Regions from separate parts of the Homo sapiens genome. Here region 2 is linked to region 1. The links are contacts of gene promoters, found by promoter capture Hi-C in human tissues and cell types (Jung and others, 2019). All regions are on one chromosome and are shown on one strand. The core of a region is centred on a gene start or on the middle of the fragment in contact, and the rest is flanking DNA. Distances in the headings are between cores, read along the strand shown. Region 1 holds the start of WNT4 (Wnt family member 4). Region 2 has its middle 32 kb from the start of MIR4418.

Evidence for each region. The method cuts DNA at HindIII sites, captures the fragments that hold promoters and counts their contacts. A contact is called where the count stands out against the background at its distance.
Region 2: a fragment that was not itself captured here is called in contact with the fragment with the promoter of WNT4 in region 1 in 1 of the 25 tissues and cell types used here (IMR-90 fibroblasts).

What each region holds. Positions count from the first base shown.
Region 1 is chr1:22,140,362-22,146,216 of GRCh38, reverse strand. It overlaps WNT4 (Wnt family member 4), which reads left to right and starts at 3,120. Exons shown (of 5, transcript NM_030761.5): 1 at 3,120-3,371. The coding sequence starts at 3,295. LOC105376845 (a long non-coding RNA gene) reads right to left here and starts at 5,264. Exons shown (of 5, transcript XR_947050.1): 1 at 5,212-5,264. RefSeq lists silencers at 2,701-3,030, 3,593-3,652. The HindIII fragment of the contact is 15,863 bases long and covers 1-5,855 here.
Region 2 is chr1:22,294,601-22,301,287 of GRCh38, reverse strand. No RefSeq gene overlaps it. Among named protein-coding and RNA genes, the nearest start is that of MIR4418, 32 kb to the right of the region's middle. RefSeq lists an enhancer at 3,497-3,996. The HindIII fragment of the contact is 4,636 bases long and covers 1,535-6,170 here.

The sequences.
Region 1 (5,855 bases), core at 1,871-4,370:
CAGGCAAGGTGGCTCATGCCTGTAATCCTAGCACTTTGGGAGGCCGAGGCAGGTGGATCACGAGGTCAAGAGATCGAGACCATCCTGGCCAACATGGTGAAACCCCGTCTCTACTAAAAAAATACAAAAATTAGCTTGGCATGGTGGCACGCACCTGTAGTCCCAGCTACTCAGGAGGCTGAGGCAGGAGAATCAGTTGAACCCGGGAGGCGGAGCTTGCAGTGAGCCGAGATCACACCACTGCACTCCAGCCTGGGCGACAGAGGGAGACTCCGTCTCAAAAAAAAAAAAAAAAAAAAAAAAAAGAATTTCCACTGACTCAGAGCAAAGGGCTCCTCCTCTCCATTATCACAGCACAGCTCAGGGAGACACTTTCTGATGGCTCCAGTTCTCTCCCTCCTGGGCTCAGCTTGATCCTGCTCGTGGGGCTCACACACACCCACTCATATGCATCTCCCAGCACCCCAGGAGAAGGCAAGCCAGGTAACATTGTTCCCACCTGATGGATACAGAAACTGAAGGTCCTGCAGCTTCCCAAAGGTCAAGTGTCATGTGCTTTGGGACAGGGGCTTAAGCCCAAACACCTGAGTCCCAGGCTCAGGATGGTATGGGAGCCGGGGATGTGGCTCTGGAGTCCCAGGTCCACCACTTTCCTTAAGCAAGTAACCTGGTGTCTTCATCTGTAAAATGAGGGTGATAACAGTACGTACTTCCTAGATTTGTTGCAACGATTGAATGAGTCAAAGCGTGTAAAGCACTAAGAACAGTGCCTGACATACCAGGGCACAACATTTGAGTGGCACAGTGCATCCTAGGTGGCCTGGCACAGTCTTGGTCTATGCCTGGTAGCCTGGCAAATCTTCCAGTTAGAGCCCCCCGTCACTCTTGAAAACATCCTGGTTTGGAAGAAAATTATATGGCCATCCTAACATAATTACCTGTTGCCATCTAAATTATTATCGTTGTTATTATTATTTTCCACCATACCATACTGAGTCTCCAGGAAGTGAATATGCTGGTTCAAAATAGGTCAGCACTTCAGTACCACCCTTAAACACAGGTGAGAGTGGCCCCTGCCCTGGGGACCCCCCCAGTCTGGCCCTCCTCCAGCTAACCTCTCATCACAAGGAGGGAAGACCATGGGACAAGGGGACATGCCCACCTGGAACTTGTGGCACCTCCACTAGAGCATACTCTGGGTGCCCAGGCCCCTGGGGTTCCCTGCAGAGATGGCCCTTAGCCCACTGCCAGGACCTGCGTGGGTCTCTTCCGCAGATCCAGCCCGAGGACAGAGTACACCACTGGCGTGCCCAGCCCTAAGCCTGAGGGGCTACCAAGGGGCTGAGCTTGCATGTGCAGGCTGAGATGTTCATGAATGTGCACAAGACTCTCGAAGGACAGGACAGAGGCAGAGGTAGGAAAAGGTAGGGGGCAGGGGCCCAGGCCAGGCACTAGGGGCCCCCTCTCCCTGTGCCACCAGCTCCAGGGCAAGGTCTGAGGAGTATGAGAATGCCACACTCAAAGCCAGCTTTCTGCCTTGTTAGGAAAGTGTATTTGTCAAGATAGAAGAATAGAACATAATTTATTTTGCATTTTGTTAGCTTGATTTATAGCCTGCAAATATTTGGACATATGGTATGTGAACCTCCATCTATACTCTTGCCCAGCCCCACAAATCCCTGCCACGTTCCACCCAGTCCCAATACCAAATGTTTACTGAGCCCTTCCTCTGTTCTGAGCCCAGGGGACCCCAGGGCACCATCCCAGCACCCAAACATGATGGCCTCTGTGGGAGCAAACTTCATACTCCAAAATCAGTGAAGAACTAAGATCAGGGGGTGAGGGCATAGACCTGGTCCTTGCCTCTGTTCCCAACCCCTAGGGAGGTGGGACAGGTGCCTCCCTTTCCGGGCCTTAGTTTTACTGTTTAGATAAGAGGTCCCTCTACCTGTGAGCAGCTGGGGGATGCAGCCTGGAGGATGAGTAGCACACAGAATCAGATCAGTGACCTGAGAGGGTGTGGCGTGGACTTGGGCAGACAATTCTTAGGGGTTACAGTGATGTGGAATTGAGCTCTCTGGACTAGCCAAGCACAGGCTGTTGCAGCCCATTCCATTCCATTCATTTATTCCTTCCACAAACATGGCAGGCACCGCCCTGTGCCCAAAACAAACAAGAGGCTGAATCTGCCTAGTATGGGAGGATAAATCGAACAAGCACATAGAAAACCAAATGCAAAGTAAGACTTGGTGAGTGAGCCAAGAGAGCTTCCCTAAACTCCTCCTGTCCTCCCAATCACAGCGTCTTAAGCCCACTTCCCGGATGAGAAAACGGAGGCTCAGAGTCAAGACCCTGCTGCCTGGGGCGCGCCCAGACCTTGTGGCTAGCCAGAAGCGAGGTTTCGGATTCCCACAGTCTCGGGCCACTGTCCCAAGCTGCCCAAAGCTGGGGAGGCCCCGTCCAGCTCCCGGAAGGCTGTAGGGAGGTGAGCGCCAGGGAGGGGCTGGGCCGCAGGACGCGGGGGCCAGGAGGCAGGGAGGGGCCGGGCGGGGGGCGGTCGGGAGACATCCAGCGCCCCGATGTGCAGCCCCAGGCACCCGGAGCGCCAGCGCCTGGGTGCGCGCGAGTGGTAGCCGCGCTCCGGTGGGTCCGCCGCGGTCGGACCGGGGTCTGGGCTCCAGGCGCCGGCGGGGGGCGGTGGGGGGGGTAGGGGGACAGCGAGGGCCGCGCTGCAGTGCCCGCAGCGGCGGGTTGGGGGAGCTGTGCCCGCCTGTCCCCTAGGCCCGGGCGGCGGCCGGGCAGCTGGGTCGCCGCGCCTCTAGCCGGGCCGGGCTCGGCGGCGCGCAGCCAGGCGTGCCTGGAGCGGGCTCGGGCCCCAAGTCCTCCGGAGCGCCCAGCCGGGGAGGCCCCGGGAGCAGCCCAGTCCCGCGGGCTAAGGCGGCAGCCGCCGCCGCTCCGGCCCGCCCCCGGGGGGGTGTCCCGGGCCGCTGGGCCCGCCCAGGTAACCCCATCCTCGGCCCGCCCCCGGCCCGCCCCCCCGGCCGCCCGCCCGCCCGCCCGCCTCCGCCGCCGCCGCCGCCGCCGCCGCCGCCGCATCCCGGCTCTGGGGCGGCGCTGACAGTCTGGTCCGCGCCGGGCAGCGGGCGCAGCAGCGGGCAGGCTGCCGGCAGGCACACGGAGGCAGAGCCCCGCCGCGCGCGCCCCGGCCCGCCCGCGGGCGCCCACCTGCAGCCCCGACGGGAGGCCCCCCGCGGCCGCAGCCGCTGCCCCGGGCCGGGCGCCCGCGGCGGCACCATGAGTCCCCGCTCGTGCCTGCGTTCGCTGCGCCTCCTCGTCTTCGCCGTCTTCTCAGCCGCCGCGAGCAACTGGCTGTAAGTCTGGCCGGGGCCGAGCGGGGCGGGGCGGGGCGGGGCAGGCCCCGGGGGCAGCGGCCGGTGCCAGGCGGCGCGGGGCAGCGGGCGCGGGGCAGCCCGGCAGGTGTCTCGGCCGCGGGACCGGAGGCTCGCTCGCTCCGCTGCCGCCGCCACGGCCCGAACGTCCCTCTGCACACCCGGGGTCCCCTCCTGCCCGGGTCCGGCTCCCTGCCCAGAGGCGTCAGGGGTGGCTGTGGCGGCGTCCGCACCGGTAGGCGGCTCGGGGCTCTCGAGGGCGCCAGGGGTGCGAGCGCGGGGCGGTGGCCCGGGAGGGGCGCCGGACGCGGGTTGCAGTCCAGCCGGGCTGACAGGTCGCTGAGGAAGCCCATTGCAGGGAAGGGCTCCGGGACATAATAGCAGGTTAATCCCGAGAAGTCCGGAGCGAGCTCCCAGCGCCGAGCTGCGCCGAGCTGCGCCGCGCTGCGGGCTGGGCTGGAGGCGTGCAGGGACCTGTTTCTGCTTGGGGGGCGGGAGCCGGAGACAGAAGGAAGGGACCAGGACGCCTGGTCTCCCAGGGCCCGGGGCTGGCGCTGGCGCTGGCCGGGCCTTGGTTTTTCCCCGGGGCAGGAAGAAACTCCGTCCAGACCTTAAAGAAGACAACGGCCCCCCAGCTCCCCGTGTCTAGCCTAAGGAGGAAGGGGTGGTAACCGCTGGTGACCTGTCTGTTTCTCCTTGACTGGATCTGCGCTCAGGGCGCTCCCTGGGTAGGGGCGGAAGGTTTGCTGCAGGGAGGGAGACTAAAGGGATGAGCTCCAGTGAGTGGGTGGACAGGGAGCAAGCGGACCCGCGCTCCTTTCATCCCCGCTCAGGGACAGTTCCCCATGCCCCGCGCTTAACCCTGGCCCCAGTTCCTCCTGCCCAGAGCTCTGCCACCATCCGCTGTGGGCAGCCAGTGGGGAGCCAAGCTCCAATATTGATCTGAAAAGCATGGGGTGGGAAGGGGGATCGCCAACAGTGTAGCTGGGGTTTCCATGGAGACAGGGAGAGAGGAAAAAATTCTCTCTGCATCAAGACCAAAGAACAAATATCTCCCATGAAATTGCCCCGAGTGTCCAATGGCTGTTGCTATGAGGTCATTGTGGCCAGCCAGAGCCCTCCAGGCTGGAAGGAGTGTGTTCGTTGGGGTCAGAGCCACCCAGGGCTTGGGGGACGGAGGTGATGTGGAATTCTCCCAGCTGTTCCGAGAGCAAACGACTCCAAGGCAGCCCGAAGTGGCTGCGGAGCTTTTGTTTTTCTTGGAGCCTTAATTTGATTAACACTTCAGGAGCAGTGGCAGAGTGTACAGAAAGCAAGGCACCACCACCTTCTCCCACTGCCCCCCTGCAGGCCACCCCCTGAATGGAGCCTGGGTCACAGAGCTGGGGAGGGAGCTGATTTGGACTTGGAGGACCCTGGGTGTCCCTGGAGCTGGTTCTTGAATGCATGGGTTCAGAGCGGGGGCCTCCAAAACAGATCTGAGCATCAGAAGGAGCAAGAACTGTGTCTCACCTGCCCAGCACCGCCAAAGCCACAAAAAACAAACAAACAAACAAAAAACAAAGAAAAAAAAGTGGCAGTCCAAGCGTCTGGCCCAGGCCTACATGGAAGACAGCGACATCTGCAGTGGAAAGTCCTTCAGGAACATCTCATCTTTGACTCAGATGAGGAAACTGAGGCCTAGGGAGTGGAAGCTACTTGCCCAAACTCAGAGCTGAGAACTGAACCCAGGTGTTCTGACTCCCAGGCAGTGACCCTATACCCCCTTCCCTGAAGCTGTCCCAAAGTGGAGCCAGCATGGCCCGGTGGCATCACCACTCACCTTCACCCATGTCCACCCCCAGAATCCCAGCCAGGAAGGCAGCCTCGGCTTTGGATCATGCAAACTGTGGGGAATTCCAACAACTCAGTTCTCCTGCCTGTGCTGTTGGGGGTGGGGTGAGGAGGGGCAGCCTAGGAGAAGAGAGGTTGGCAAACCTGTTCTCTGCAACGGTGATGGTTCAGGTTGCCACGAAGCAGGTCTCTGGATGACCCAGCTCACTCCTGCTCCACCCCCGGCTTCAAGCCAAGGGTCTCTCTGCTCCACCCAAGGCAAGAGGAACAAGAGGCTTCCCAGGACCCTCCCAAACCAGAGAGGCTATGAAGGAGAAGACACTGGGCACATACCAAGGTTGGTCCAATATTTATCAACCTCTGTCGAACAATCAGCTGGCCAGGAATGGCAGCTCTGGGGGAAATGGATGTCACAGCCTGGCCTCCCACAAGCCTGGAGTCTAGGTAGAAAGACATGATAAAACCACGACTGGGTGGAACAGGGCACATGCTCTATGGCTGTCAGAGGAAAGAGCTGAGTGTGAGCCCGAGCAGGCACAGAGGGGGACTTGGTCTGAAGACTGTATGATCATGACAATAATAATTATTATGATGACTCCCACAGCATGATCTAAATCCCAACAACGTTTCAAT
Region 2 (6,687 bases), core at 2,603-5,102, 150 kb before region 1:
CACCATTTATTGAATATGGAGTCTTTTTCCCATTGCTTGTTTTTGTCAGTTTTGTCAAAGATCAGATAGTTGTAGGTGTGTGGTCCTATTTCTGGGATCTCTGTTCTGTTCCTTTGGTCTATGGGTCTGTTTTTGTACCAGTGCCACGCTGTTTTGGTTACTGTAGCCCTGTAGTATAGTTTGAAGCAGAGTAGCATGATGCCTCCAGCTTTGTTCTTTTTGCTTAGGATTGTCTTGGCTATTCAGATTCTTTTTTGGTTCCATATGAATTTTAAAGTAGATTTTTCTAGTTCTGTGAAGAGTCTCAATGGTAGTTTAATAGGAATAGCATTGAATCTATAAATTGCTTTAGGCAGGTCATTTTTACTGTATTGATTCTCTCTATTCATAAGCATGGAATGTTTTTGCATTTGTTTGTGTCATCTCTGATTTCTTTGAACAGAGTTTTGTAGTTCTCCTTGTTGAGATCTTTCACCTCCCTAGTTAGCTGTATTCCTAGGTATTTTATTATTTTGTGTGTGTGTGTGGCAATTGTGAATGGGATTGCATTCCTGATTTGGCTCTCTGCTTGACTGTTGTTGCTGTATAGGAATGCTAGTGATTTTTGCACATTGATTTTGTATCCTGATGCTTTCCTGAAATTGTTTATCACCTTAAGAAGCTTTTGGACTGAGACTGTGGGATTTTCCAAGCTATAGGATCATGTCATCTGCAAACAAGGATAGTTTGACTTTCTCTCTTCCTATCTATTTCTTTCAGTGGTGTTGATGCCCTTTCTTTCTCTTGCCTGATTGCCCTGGCCAGGACTTCCAATACCATGTTGAATAGGAGTGGTGAGAGAGGGCATCTTTGTTCTGTGCCAGTTTTCAAGGGAAATGCTTCCAGCTTTTGCCCATTCATTATGATGTTGGCTGTGGAATTATCATATATGGCTCTTATTATTTTGAGGTATGTTTCTTTAATACTTAGTTTATTGAGAGTTTTTAACATGAATGGATGTTGAATTTGATCAAAAGCCTTTTCTGCATCTACTGAGATTATCATGTGGTTTTGTCTTTAGCTCTGTTTATGTAAGGAATCACATTTATTGATTGGCATATGTTGAACCAACCTTGCATCCCAGGGATAAAACCTACTTGATCGTGGTTGATGAGCTTTTTGATGTGCTGTGGGATTCAGTTTGCCAGTATTTTGGTGAGGATTTTTGCACTGATGTTCATCACAGATATTGGCCTGAAGTTTTCTTTTCCTGTTGTATCTCTGCCAGGTTTTGGTACTAGGAGGTTGTTGGCCTCCATCCTATTTTCCACAGTTGTTTTATTTTCCAAACATCACAGCAATGAAGACAAAGAGCCCACCCTCCAACCCAACACCTATTCTGAATTTAAAAAGCAAATCCAATGATAATGACATGAACTGGGGACACTGTAGACCAGCCAGGTGTAATCCTTGGTCACCAGTTTTGGTCTTCTATTTCTCCCTTCTTATTCTATTAATGCCATTATCAAGCATAACAGAAAATCATTTATTAAAATGAGGGACTCTGGTGACCCAGAGATTTGAGTCTTTTTTTTTTTTAATTCTCTGCAAGTGTTGCACAAAATGATTTGAGGCTTTTAAACAAAAACAGTACTGAAAAGATAAGCAGTTTACCCCACCACGAAATTCCCAAGCTGAAATTATTTTCAAACTGTACCCCAAATAAAATTATATCATCTTTTTTCTTCATTTACTGAACTTAATACTCTTAATGTGCTATGTCAGTATATGGATGACATTTACTTCAATTTAATAGTCTCATGCATGCGGTACTTTGGTGCATTGCCACACCAAAATGTGCTAACTTGGATCAGATTCTTTAAGGAGTCAGTGACCAAAAAGCAAATTAAGAATAACCATCCAGGCCGAGCGCAGTGACTCACACTTATAATCCCAGCACTTTGGGAGGCCAAGGCGAGTGGATTACCTGAGGCCAGGAGTTTGAGACCAGCCTGGCCAACATGGTAAAACTACATCTCTACTTAAAAAAAAAAAAAAAAATTAGCCGGGTGTGGTGACATGTACCTGTAATCCCAGCTACTGGTTTGGCTGAGGCAGGAGAATCACTTGAACCCAGGAGGTGGAGGTTGCAGAGAGCCGAGATCGGGCCAGTGCACTCCAGTCTGGGTGAACAGAGTAAGACTCCATCTCAAAAAAAAATAAAGAAAGAAAGAACAACCATCCAGCTGGGCGCAGTGGTGTGCACCTGTGTTCCCAGCTCAGTAGCTGTGGCAGAAGGCAGAAGGACCACTCAAACTTCAGGAGTTTGAGCAAGAGTTCTAATCCAACCTGGGAAATATAACAAGACGGTGTCTTTAAAAAAATAATAATAATAGCCATCAGAGGAAGAAATTTTAACATTCAAAGCTTCCTCCCATTCCTCTTCCTCTGTCCTCTCTTTTCCTCCACTACCCTCTCGGCTCTTCTTCTTCTTTCCTGTCCTCTTCCCTTCTTTCCCAGCTTCTCCCACCTCCATATCAAGTTAAAGTCAAAAATATCTGGGCTTAAATCCTGGCTCCACTGCCTTCTTCTTGGATGACCTTGGTAAGGTGACTTCTTAACCTGTCTGAACCTGTTTCTTCACATATAAAAACAGGACGATGCTCTTTAGCTAAGAGAGTGGTCACGAGGATCAAATGAGATAATATGCATCAAACACCTGGCACAGCATATGTGCTTAGTAATGGAAGATATTAATCCTTCATTTGATAAACGTCTGTTGAGCACCTGTTCTGTGGGGGCCTTGTGCTGAAGACACAGAAACCAAGGAGTACAATAAGGGGTATAGGCAAACAAATAAATTGCACTGAAGTATGGTAAGAAATATTATAGAAATCTGAATAAAATTATCAGAGGACAGGGATGCCCCTAGGCTGAAGAGTCCTCCATCACTAGAGGGGTATAAGCAGAGAGCATGGGTACCATGTTTTCTTGCTGCCTGGTGTCTGGGTATAAGGGTTGGGTGGGAGAGGGACCTCTGAGCTTCGGGTGGAGTTGACTCCACTCCCAGCTGGTAAGGATAGCAGTGCATGTGACTAATCCTGGCCAATGGGAACTCACATCCCAAGGTCTTCTGAGGGACTTGATAAGGGTCTGGGGCTGCTGGCAGGCACCTTGCCTCCTTATAATACTGAGAATGAGGCTACCATGGAGGGAGCAGAGCTGAGGGATGTTCAGAGACCCATCTTTGATGATATGGTTGGAACAGCTGGATTCAACCATACCTGAAGCCAAACTCTCCTTGGATTTTGATGTAAATTAAGCCCCTTAAAAAATCCCCCTTTAGTTTTCATCTAGATCAACTTGGGTGCCTTTCCTCTATTCCTTGTGGACCAAAGAGTCCTGTAACTGACAATGAAGATGCTGAGAAGCTCAGTAAATGTTTGGTGAGAAGGGGGTATGGGAGGAGCTAGATGACCTCCAGAAGCCCTTCCGGTGAGAGAGGCTTTGAGTTGGGCATTGAAGGGGCTGAATTGTTGGTTGTTTGAAGGACAGCAGAACAGAGCAGGCAGTGCAGTGCCCCAGAGTTCCGCCGACTCCAGTTTCCATTCCGGGAGCACTTCCTGGTGCATTTAAATGTGCCCCTGTGTGTGAGTGCCTTCAGGGGGTTTCAAAATAGCCTGAAATATAAACAGACTGGAAACCTACTCCTTCTCTTCCTCTCCCTGCTTTTCCTCTCTCCCGGGGTGGGGATGGGGGAAGCTGGTGCCGGTGCTGCAGAAGCTCCATTTGGAGGATTTAGAAAACATTTCAAGTTCGGTCTCCTTCTTTCTAAGTCTGGCAAGACCGCCTGCCTGGGGCAATTTTCCCCCTGAGTGCCAGGCCCAGGTGTGTGGGCAGGAAAAAGCAGCCCATTGTGTTCCAGCTTCGGGTCCTTCCGGTCCTAGGACTTGGCCCCTGCCAGCCTTGGGTTCCCAAGGAAAAGAGGCAGGGAGCACACTGGAGAAGCAGTGGGGCCTGGCACTTTCCTGCTGATGGAACAGATCCCTTCACGATAAAATTCCAGGCCACAACAGTTTATTGAGCAACTACCCCTGGGAGCTAACCAGAGGGACAAAACTCAGGGAACAGAACATGCTTTAATCTGGGATTCGGGATGTTAGCCTGCCGTGAACCTGGGGTAACTGGTTCCAAAGCCAGCTCCCAGCACACCTCCCAGAATTCACACCCTTGTGGGGCCCCTCCCCTGGACCTGCACAGGCTCCGTGACTCACTTTTAACCAACAGAACACAGCAGAAATGATGCTGTGTGATTTCGGAGGGGAGGTCAGAAGCCTTGCAGCCCCAACTGTCCTTCTCGGGACACCCGCCCTGGGGTGCTCCCTCTAGGGGCCCAGCCACCTGCTGTGGGAAGCCCAAGCCACAGGGAGAAACCACAGATAGTATCATGTGTTCCGTTGTGTTTCCCCACCACACCCAAATTCATATGTTGAAGTCTTAACCCTCAGCACCTCAGAATTTCCTAATCTAGGAATAAGGTTGTTGCAGATGTACTTAGTTAAGATGAGGTCATCCTGGAATAGGGTGGCTAATCCAATGTGACTGGTGTCCTTATAAATCGGGGAGATTTTGGGCACAGAGACATGCACATGTGGAGAATGCCATGTGAAAATAAAGACAGAGATGGGGGTGGTGCTTCTACAATCCAGGAAATGCCAAACATTGCCAGGAAACCATCAGAGCCTGGAAAGTTCTCCCTCACTTGGACTTTGATGTGAACTGAGTCCCCTAAAAGGTCTCCCTTTATTTTTCCTCTAGATCAGCTTGGGTGCCTTTTGTCTTTTTTGACTAGGGGAGTCCTATAACTGACAACGGAGATGCTGAGATACTCAGTCAATGTTTGGTGGGAAGAAGGGATGAGAGGAGCTAGATGACCTCCAGGGGACCCTCCTTCTCTCTCTAGGAGAGAGTCTGGAAGATTCTCCCTCACAGTCCTCAGAAGGAACCGACCATGCTGACACCTTGACCTTGGACTTCCAGCCTCCGGAACTGTGAGACAGTGTGTGTTGAGTGATGACCTGGCATCTCCTCCCTCTGTTTCAGAAATTTCAAAAATGTGGGTACCAGAGCAAAATTATTGGAGGGTTGACGTCAGTCAACCTCCCAAATGGTTCAGACCAAGGCATTCTTAGCCAATGTGGGACATTCTTTCCTTGCTCAGGAAAAAAGCAAACATGCCCTTAATTCGGTGATGCCAGAGTTGTTCTTTTGCAAGGATTAGGGTCAACACATGGCAACAGAGGGCCACGCACTCGTCGTGTGAGACCAGACTGGCTTGGGTCTGGGGAAGAAAAAATCCATGCTTGCTAAATGCAACGTGGGATCCTGAATTGAATCCTGGAATGGCAAAAGGGCATTCATCGAAAAACGGGTGAAACCTGAATAATCTATAGTTTAGTTAAGAGTAATGTACCGACGATGATGTCTTAGTTTTGAGAAATGTTCCATGGTAAAGCAAGATGCTCACATTAAGAGGAATGGAGTGAAAGGTATACAAGAACTCTCTGTACTATCTTTACAACTTTTCTGTAACTCTAAATGTTTTTCAGGATAAAATGTTTATTAAACAAAAAAAGCTAGCATTTGCAGTGATGAAATGTGTTTGTCTTTAGACAGGTCAAAGGGGAGTTGGCCAAGTCCCTTGCTGATGAGGAGGTCATCTCAAAATCAAAACCCTTTGCCCTCCCAAGTGACAAGTGGGGTAATAGTTGTTGTTCATAGGGTTATGTCAAAGACTAAATGAAATAAAACATGTAAAGGGCTTGGCATAGAGCAAGGACCGTGGCAAGCATTCAATAATCGTAAGCTGCTGTTGTTGTTTAGTAAAACCACTTCACTAACAGTATCCCCATGATGCCACATTGGCTGGTGTGAGGAGTTTATAGCTCTGCCAGCCCACTGTGGTTTTGCTCTAATGCACTCTCAAATGTATGAGTTCTCTGTTGCTGAATAACAATATTACCATTAACTTAGTGCTCTATTTGGTTTGTTTGTTTGTTTTTGAGACAGTCTTGCTTTGTGGTCCAGGCTGTAGTGCAGTGGCACAATCTTAGCTCACTGCAACCTCCCGGGTTTAAGCAATTCTTATGCCTCAGCCTCCCATGTAGTTGGGATTACAGGTGTGCACCACCATATGTGGCTAATTTTTATATTTTTAGTAGAGATGGGGTTTTACCATGTTGGCCAGGATGGTCTTGACCTCTTGACCTTCACTGATCTGCCTGCCTTGGCCTCCCAAAGTGCTGGGATTATAGGTGGGAGCCACCATGCCCAGCCAATTTAGTGCTTTTAAAACACGTTTATGGCCAGGCATGGTGACTCACACTTGTAATCCCAGCATTTTGGGAGGCCAAGGTGGGCAGATCACTTGAAGTCAGGAGTTCGAGACCAGCCTGGCCAACATGATGAAACCCCATCTCTACTAAAATACAAAAAATTAACCAGGCGCAGTGTTACGCACCGGGAATCCCAGCTTCTCAGGAGGCTGAGGGATGAGAATCGCTTGAACCCAAAAGGCGGAGGTTGCAGTGAGCCGAGATTGTGCCACTGCACTCCAGCCTGGGCAACAAAGTGAAACTCTGTCTCAAAAAAATAAAAATTAATTAATTAATTAATTTAATTTAATTAAACACATTTATTATCTCACAG